Linked DNA regions of Homo sapiens: region 2 is linked to region 1. The links are contacts of gene promoters, found by promoter capture Hi-C in human tissues and cell types (Jung and others, 2019). All regions are on one chromosome and are shown on one strand. Each heading gives the region's core, a stretch centred on a gene start or on the middle of the fragment in contact. The rest is flanking DNA. Distances are from core to core; before and after follow the strand shown. Region 1 holds the start of IYD (iodotyrosine deiodinase). Region 2 overlaps PLEKHG1 (pleckstrin homology and RhoGEF domain containing G1).

Evidence for each region. Contacts are between HindIII fragments. The study calls those that stand out against the background at their distance.
Region 2: a fragment that was not itself captured here is called in contact with the fragment with the promoter of IYD in region 1 in 1 of the 25 tissues and cell types used here (IMR-90 fibroblasts).

What each region holds. Positions count from the first base shown.
Region 1 is chr6:150,367,223-150,371,192 of GRCh38, forward strand. It overlaps IYD (iodotyrosine deiodinase), which reads left to right and starts at 1,790. Exons shown (of 5, transcript NM_203395.3): 1 at 1,790-1,987. The coding sequence starts at 1,810. The HindIII fragment of the contact is 8,635 bases long and covers 1-3,970 here.
Region 2 is chr6:150,676,198-150,680,230 of GRCh38, forward strand. All of the region lies in intron 2 of PLEKHG1 (pleckstrin homology and RhoGEF domain containing G1), which reads left to right. Among named protein-coding and RNA genes, the nearest start is that of PLEKHG1, 78 kb to the left of the region's middle. The HindIII fragment of the contact is 6,713 bases long and covers 1-4,033 here.

The DNA.
Region 1 (3,970 bases), core at 540-3,039:
TCACAAAAAGGAGTATTACAATATATGATACAATAAAACCATCAAAATGAGTATTGAAATAAATAACACATATTCAATTTTTTAAATAGATAATATATTTACAACAGCTCAAAATACTTAAATTATGGAATAGTATTCAGTAGAAATTCTCTCACCCTTGTCCCCCATCTATCCAGTTTCCACACTCCCTCCAAAACAAGTAACCACTGTTTTTTTCACTGTTTATTTTGAAATAATATAGACTCACAAGAAATTGCAAAATTAATAAAGAGAATTCCTGATATAACCGCTCCTTAGAGTATGCTTTTCCAGGAAATACATATATAAGTTTGTATAAATGTATCATATTTTCCACTCTGTTTTATTCAAATGGCATCATGTTATACATACGTTTGCACCTTGATGCTAAAGACTGAATATGTCTTGGCAAAATTCATGTGTTGGAGCCCTAAGCCCCAGTACAATGGTATTTGGAGGTTGGGCCTTTGGGAGGTGAACAGGTGATGAGAGTGGAGCCCTCATTAATGAGATTAGTGGCCTTATAAGAAAAAAGATGATAGAGATGATCTGTTTCCACCATCCACTGTGTGAGGTTACAGCAAGAAGGCACCTGTTGGCAAACCAGGAGGGGAGCCCTCACCAGGAGCTGATTTGCCAGCACCTTAATTATGGACTTCTCAACCTCCAGAACTATGATAAATAAATGATAAATAAATTTCTTTCTTTCTTTCTTTCTTTCTTTCTTTCTTTCTTTCTTTCTTTCTTTCTTTTCTTTTCTTTTTCTTCTTCTTCTTCTTTCTTTCTTTTTTTTTTTTTAGAGGAACTTTCACTCTTGTCGCCCAGGCTGGAGTGCAATGGCACAATTTCGGCTCACTGCAACCTCCACCTCCTGGGTGGAGCTATTTTCCTGCCTCAGCCTCCTGAGTAGCTGTGTTTGCAGGCATGTACCACCAGGCCCAACTAATTTTTGTATTTTTAGTAGAGATGGGGTTTCATCATGTTGGCCAGGCTGGTCTCGAACTCCTGACCTCAAGTGATCTGCCCCTCTCAGCCTCCCAAAGTGCCGGGATTATAGGCATGAGCCACCATACCTGGCTGAGAAATAAATTTATATTGTTTAAGCCACCCGGTCCATAGTATTTTTGTTATTTCAGCCATAACTGACTAAGGCACTTTCTAAAACAGACAGACAAACTAACACATAAAAAGCCCTACTGAAGTAATTACATAATCAAGTTGTCACTTTAATTTTTTGTGTCACTTTTCCTGGATCAAAGTTTTTCTCTGATGCAAAACATGATATTCTCTTTACTCCATATATTGGCTCAGGTATCATAAAAAAAAAATCAAAACCCTAGGGCTGTTTTCACAAATATGCCATTTAAAATGCATGGTGCCAAACCTCTTTCCTGAACATTTTCTTCCAGCAGATCTGAGTTGGTGTGTGGAAATCTATTTAAAAAAAACAAAAACAAAAACAAGTTCTTCAGGTGATCTAGCTAGATCTAGCACATGCAAGTTCTTACTCAGATTCTGGCAATTGTTGTCTAAGAATATATCGACAGAGTACATACTTTTAAAAAGTTAATGGACTGGTGTATAACCAAAGCCACAACACCCCACACATGTGACTGTGATCTTTGCTCCTTTGCAAAGTCCTCACAGAGTTGAAGAGTTCTGCACTTTGTTCCTTCCCTGGCACACCTGTGTCTGCATTCCTTCTATCTCCCGGCATTCTCCACTCCTGTCTCTGTGTGTTTAAAAACCGGTGTGGGAAGTGTGCACGCCTGTGACGTCAGACTCCAGACCATGTATTTCCTGACTCCCATCTTGGTAGCCATTCTCTGCATTTTGGTTGTGTGGATCTTTAAAAATGCCGACAGAAGCATGGAGAAAAAGAAGGGGGAGCCTAGAACCAGGGCCGAAGCTCGCCCCTGGGTGGATGAAGACTTAAAAGACAGCAGTGACCTGCACCAAGCAGAAGAAGGTAAAGACACCAGCTATGCTGCTTAGCTTCGCTGTCGTGTTGTGTTGATGATGAGTGTGAGTCAATGGCAGGGCTTATGGAGAGGAAGAAACACACACAGGCCAGCTTCAACATCAACCTCTATTGTGCTAATGAATCAGTGCTTGGCACAGACAGGTCATCTCTCTCCAGTGATGAGCTTGTCACCTGCTGGGACCAACCCTTTTTTATTTTTGATGCCCAGTGAAAAAGCTGTTGAGAGGCTGAAGTTTTCCCTGGCTACAATTCTGTTCTGGTTGTTAAAATCTTTCTGCAGGAATTCATCCCAGGCTGGCAGTGGGCAGGGACTAAGAGGCCAGGTTTTGATCAGGAACTTTGAAATCTACCAAGTGGCATCACCTAGGAGGCTGCTACCTTTCCCTGTGCCAGGCCCTGGAAGTGAAAGCCTGGGATGGCCTCTGTCCTCAACAAACTGAATGTCCAGTTCAGCTGCCAAGATGATACACTAGAATCAGAGAGAGTAACAAAGAGACAGACCCGGTGGAACTGATTCTAAGGTGTTTAGAGTAGGCCTGGGAGTTTGACGGTGCAGTCAGGGAAAGGACAAACCAGGCTGGGAGGATGAATAGGGTACAAATAGCAAGTGCTGGGAGGCCTGTCAGGCAACAAGGAGCCAAAGGAGCAGAAGCACCTGGAGGCCTGGGGCAGGGGTAAGAGAGGAAGTGGAGAATTGAGGGTGGAGGGAGAGGGTAAGAATGGAAGTAGAGAATTGAGGGCGGGAAGGTTATGGCCACCTTGAGAAGAAGAGGTGATGAAGGAGGCAGGTAGGAAGGGAGAGAGCGTGGAGGAAGCTTGAGCCATCTGTGTTTGAGAAGCTTTGTCTGGGATGGGTTCGATTTGGAAGAGGCTCTGTGATCTTCAGCTGGGCTAATGATGCCCCCATCCCCAAACAGAGGCCACCTGGACATGTGAGTGTGTGTGAGTGTATGTGTGTGAGAGTGTGTGTTTATGAATGTGCATGTGTGTGTGCGCGTGCGTGTGTGTGTGTGCATGAGAGTGGATGTGTGTGCGCGTGCATGTGAGTGTTCATTAATGTGCATGTGTGAGTGTGTGTGCATGAGTGTGTGTGCACGAGTGGGTGAGTGTGCGTGTGAGTGTGCACGTGTGTGCATGAGTGTGTGTGAGCATGCATGAGTTTGTGTGTGCATGCATGAATGTGTGTGTGCGTGCGCATGAGTGTGTTTGTGAGAGAGTGTGTGCATGAGTGTGTGTCCTAATCTCAGGACCGGGGCGCAGGGTGTCCAGCTGGCTCTCAGTGCTAACAGCCTGTAGTGCTGACTGCACCGTACAGGAGTCTAGCCTCTCAGCAGGGCTGCCTCTTGCTCTCCTACATTGAAACCTCTTCCACTCAGAACGTCAATTCTACCCAGCGGAGAAGCACTTCCCTTAATCCAGGGAACATCTGCTGTGAAGCTGGGTAATGGTTTGTGCTGGTAAGGATGGCCTGGATGGTGGGGGCAGGTGGGAATGCAGTGGAAGGCGTGGATCAGAGTAAAGTTAATGGAAGAGCAACAGGGTTTGCTAGTAAATTGGATATTGGGAAAAGGAGGAGAGAGGGAGAGTTGGAGACTGGAAGCTATCATAAGTGGGTGAGGGAATGAGGATCCAGCTTAAAGGGGAAGATGTTGAGTTCCATCGAGGACATGTTTGATTTCAGACGACAGTGACACACCTGAGCAGAAAAGGGAGACAGCAGTCTATGTTAGGGGCCCAGGCCACAGATACTGACTGGAGAGTCACCAGTATGGGGAAGATACTTGGAACCTGGAGAAATAATGAATCCACAAAGTGGGCATTGCTAGAGAGAAGGCTGAGGATAGAACTTGAGGGACACATGCGGTTAAGAGGAACTGTGGAAGAAAAATGTACTAGAGAAAGGGAGGAGCTGTGGGAAAGGGGGCTCTGGGATCATAACAGTAACAAGCCCTTATATATTAATAGCTC
Region 2 (4,033 bases), core at 980-3,479, 310 kb after region 1:
ATGCACAGCAACAATTGGAGACTTAATTCATGTGCCCACACAAGAATTTATATAAATGTGAGCACAACGTCAGATTCTAATTGGATAAGTGGTCCAAGGATAAAACCGGCTATTACACAAAGGAAAACAAATAGGAAACCAAATCTGAAAATAACACTCAAATACATTTTAAAATGGAAACATTTTACACCTATCAAATAAACGGAAGTCAAAAATCAACAAGGGACAGGTTGTGGAGAAACAGGTTATATTCATGCATTACTGTTAACCGTGTAAACTATGTAATCCTTTTGGAGAAAACCTGACAGTATATAATAAGGATGATGACAGTCTTACCCTTTGAACCTGCTGTAGCTCTTCCTTCCTGGCAGTTTATCCCGACGGTGTCATGAGACAAGAACTTATTGAGCAACTGCAGTGCTAGAAGCTGTGAGAAATGGAGATGAAGGAGACAGATTCTACCCTGAAGGTGAAGCTGGTGCAACTTAAAGGCACTAACATAATTCATGTTCAAAAATGTCTTCATGGAATTAATTATAATGAGAAAAAATACTTAGTGACAGCCTACATATCTAAAAATGTAGAACTCATTATTTTCCTGAGTCACCCACCACCCTATAACCAACTCTCTCCCGTTCTTCTATGCATACCCTGGGAGTGAATGGCAATGCCAGCCCCAAGGTGCCTTAACCACAAGCTTCAGCCTTTCCCTCCCTCCTCCCTCTCCTTCATAGCCCAGCCCCATCCAATCAATTCTCAAACTATAGGCATTCTCCCTGCAGCTGCCTTTATCCAGGCTGCCACCACCTCATCAATTCTCAAACTATAGGCATTCTCCCTGCGCTGCCTTTATCCAGGCTGCCACCACCTCTTCCTTAGCAGGTGTCTATCTCCATACTTGCATTGTTTCTTCCTCTGGTCTGTTTTCCAACTTCATTGAGAGTTGTCTTTTCAAAATGCAGATCTGATTGATTATGGTACTCCTCCATTTAAAACATTCAGTCCAAAGTCTTTACTGGATACATAAGACCCTATGTGGCCTGGTGCCTACTAACCTCTACAGTCTTGTCTCTTGTTTCTTCCCCTATACACACACACACACACACGCGCGCGCGCACACACACCACCAGTTTCTACCCTACTGCATTGCTTGGAGTTTCACTGGATAGGCACCATGAGTCTTTGCACATGGCACTCCCTCTCCTTAAAAGCCTACACTGATTTCTCACCCCATCCCATGACTCCAGGCTGGCTGACTCCTATTTATGCCTGTTTGTTCTTCCAGACTCAATTCATATGTCATCCCTTCTAGGGACATCTTTATGATCTAGGTCCCTTCCTGACACATGCAGACACAAGACTCAGTTGGGGGCCCACTTATGTTCACACACCTGATACATACCCCTCATGTAGAATGCTGTCAGTGCTTTGGGAAGCTGAGGCAAGAGGATCACTTGAGGCCAGGAATTCAAGGCCAACCTAGGCAACATAGTGAGATCCCGTCTCTAAAAAAGAAAAAGAAAGTTTAAATTAGCTGGACACGGTGGTGCACACCTGTAGTCCCAGCTACTTGGGAGATTGAGGAGGGCGGGTCACTTGAGCCTGGGAGTTCAGGGTTACAGTGACCTGTAATTATGCCACTGTACTCCAGCCTGGGTGACAGAGTGAGACCCTGTCTCCAAAATAAATAAACAAATAAATAAATAAGTCAGTACAAGTATTATATTATGCATAAAGGCAAAATGCAACAAAATAGGTCATAGGTCAATGTGTTCCCTGACTTTTTGTAGCAAAGTGTTTTTTAGTGTTATTTTTAATTGATAATAATTGTATATATTTATGGGATACAATGTGATGTTTTGATGCATATATATATATATATATATATATATATATATATATATATGTTGTGGAATGATCAAATCAGGCTGTTCTTTGTGGTCAGGACATTTAAAATCCATTCTTTTAGCTCTTTTGAGGTCTACAATACGTTACCATTAACTACAGTCACCATGCTGTGTAATGGATCACCAGAGCCTGTTCCTCCTGTCCCACTGAAACTTCAGACCACTTGAACAACATCTCTCCTTGCCCACCCAGGCCCCTCCACCATAGCTGAGTGTTTTAAAACTATTCCCAATGAACACCTAAATTTAAGCAGTGCCTGAATAGCTTTCACAACTCTACAAAGTGAGCAGGGAGAAATCTAACTCTTTATGCCATTAATATATAAGCAGGAATTGTTTCACTAGATCTGTGTTAACTTCAGATGCCCTAGGAAACAGGAGTTTTTATATTAGGTTCAGCCTGAATTACCCATCTTGACCTAATCTAACTGATGTAAATAGTAGGAATTAATTTTGTGCAGGCAGGGGTAAAGATTAATCCAGGTCAGTCAGCACCTTGTAATTAATCCACATACTCTTTAAAATAGAGAAAGAAATGTTGGCATACTCTCTGGCTTAAGGTTCTGCACCAATCTAATGTAGAGTTCTAAAATTTTATAGTGTTCACATTTCAGGGTTGAATTACAAATAACAAAGGCTTTGCTAAAGATGGTTATTTCCAATGGCCAAATCTTGAGGTGTTGTTAGGAATTGGTTCTAACCAATCATGAGCAAATGAATATGTGAATTAAAGACAAAATATTTCTAGGTGATTTTTAAATATGATTAGAAAACCTGGGTTTTATCATATTAGGTTATCACTGATATTGCAGTTTTAAAACCTGAAATCTCTGAATATCAATTAATTATAAACTAGAAATCAGCCTAAATTCATTAACTTTCATTGCTGAGAAAATAAGTAATAAATCTCTGAAAAAACAATATTAATGAGCAATTTTCTACAAAATCAAAATTTTAAACTCTTATTAAATTGTGTGTGTGAGTGAAAGTGCCATAATGATGTATGGTAGCCTTGCCTTGCTTTGATATAGAGGAGAAAATAAATACAGAAATCATGTTTGTAGGATTTTAAAGGTTTGGCATGAGTAAGCACCATTGCCTTGACTTTTCTGAGTCGCTCTGTTCTTAATAATAGCTTTTAATATAATTTAACGTAAGTTGTAATCATATAATAAATATTAAGCTCCAAAGAGATATTTAGTTATTTGTTAAATTTCTTGAACTTCATGGCTATGTTCAGCAATATAGCATTTCTCAGGGCAGAGAAGATGTGAATATTAAATGTAAGTAAGGGAGAAATACAGGCAGCTCACTTTTCACCAAAGTGTTCTCTTTGAAGAATCCATAAAATAAAGTAGTTATCATAAAGCAAATCATGTTTTCCCATGGGAATGAGTTCATAATTACAGGCTTGCTTCTTTACCTAATTATAAGCAATAGCATACTTTAAAAAATTACAACAGCTGTGATAGAAATATCACCCACACTAATTATACCAAAGTCCTCAGGGCAGTATAGTTGTTCATTCAGTCATTCAGCAAGCATTCGTTGAGTATGTACTCTGTGCCAGGTGCTGTTTCAGGCTGTGGGAATTTGATGCAGGCAAAAAAACACATGCGCTTTCCCTGCCACCCCATCAGTATATTAAACTAGACTAGTAGGAGAGATGGCTGTAAGCCAGATATTCATTGTAATTATAAATGCCATAAAGGAAAAAAAAATACAGGTAGGCATTGTCATGAGGAGGTGATCGCCATGCTGAGGTCTGACAGGTGAGCAGGAACTGAGGCGGGGGCAGAAAAGCAATGTGGAGAGACAGTGAGCTTTGGAGGGACTTAGAGATGAGTGGTGTGTCTGGCATGGTATGGGAGAGAAGGCCAGTAAAGTCAGCAAGGGGGCCAGGATGGGAACATGTGAGTGCTGGAGGCCAGGTTACATACAGGTTGTGATCCTTATTCTAGAAGAAATGAAGAGGCATGGAAGAGTTTTCAGCTGATGGGGTAAGGATAGGGTGACATCAGGTCTGCCATTTGAATGATCATGGCACTATAGTTCTCCCCTCCAGAGAATATTTAGTAGAATGTTATACTAGTACAGATGGAAGATGACCAGGGTAGAGATGGAGA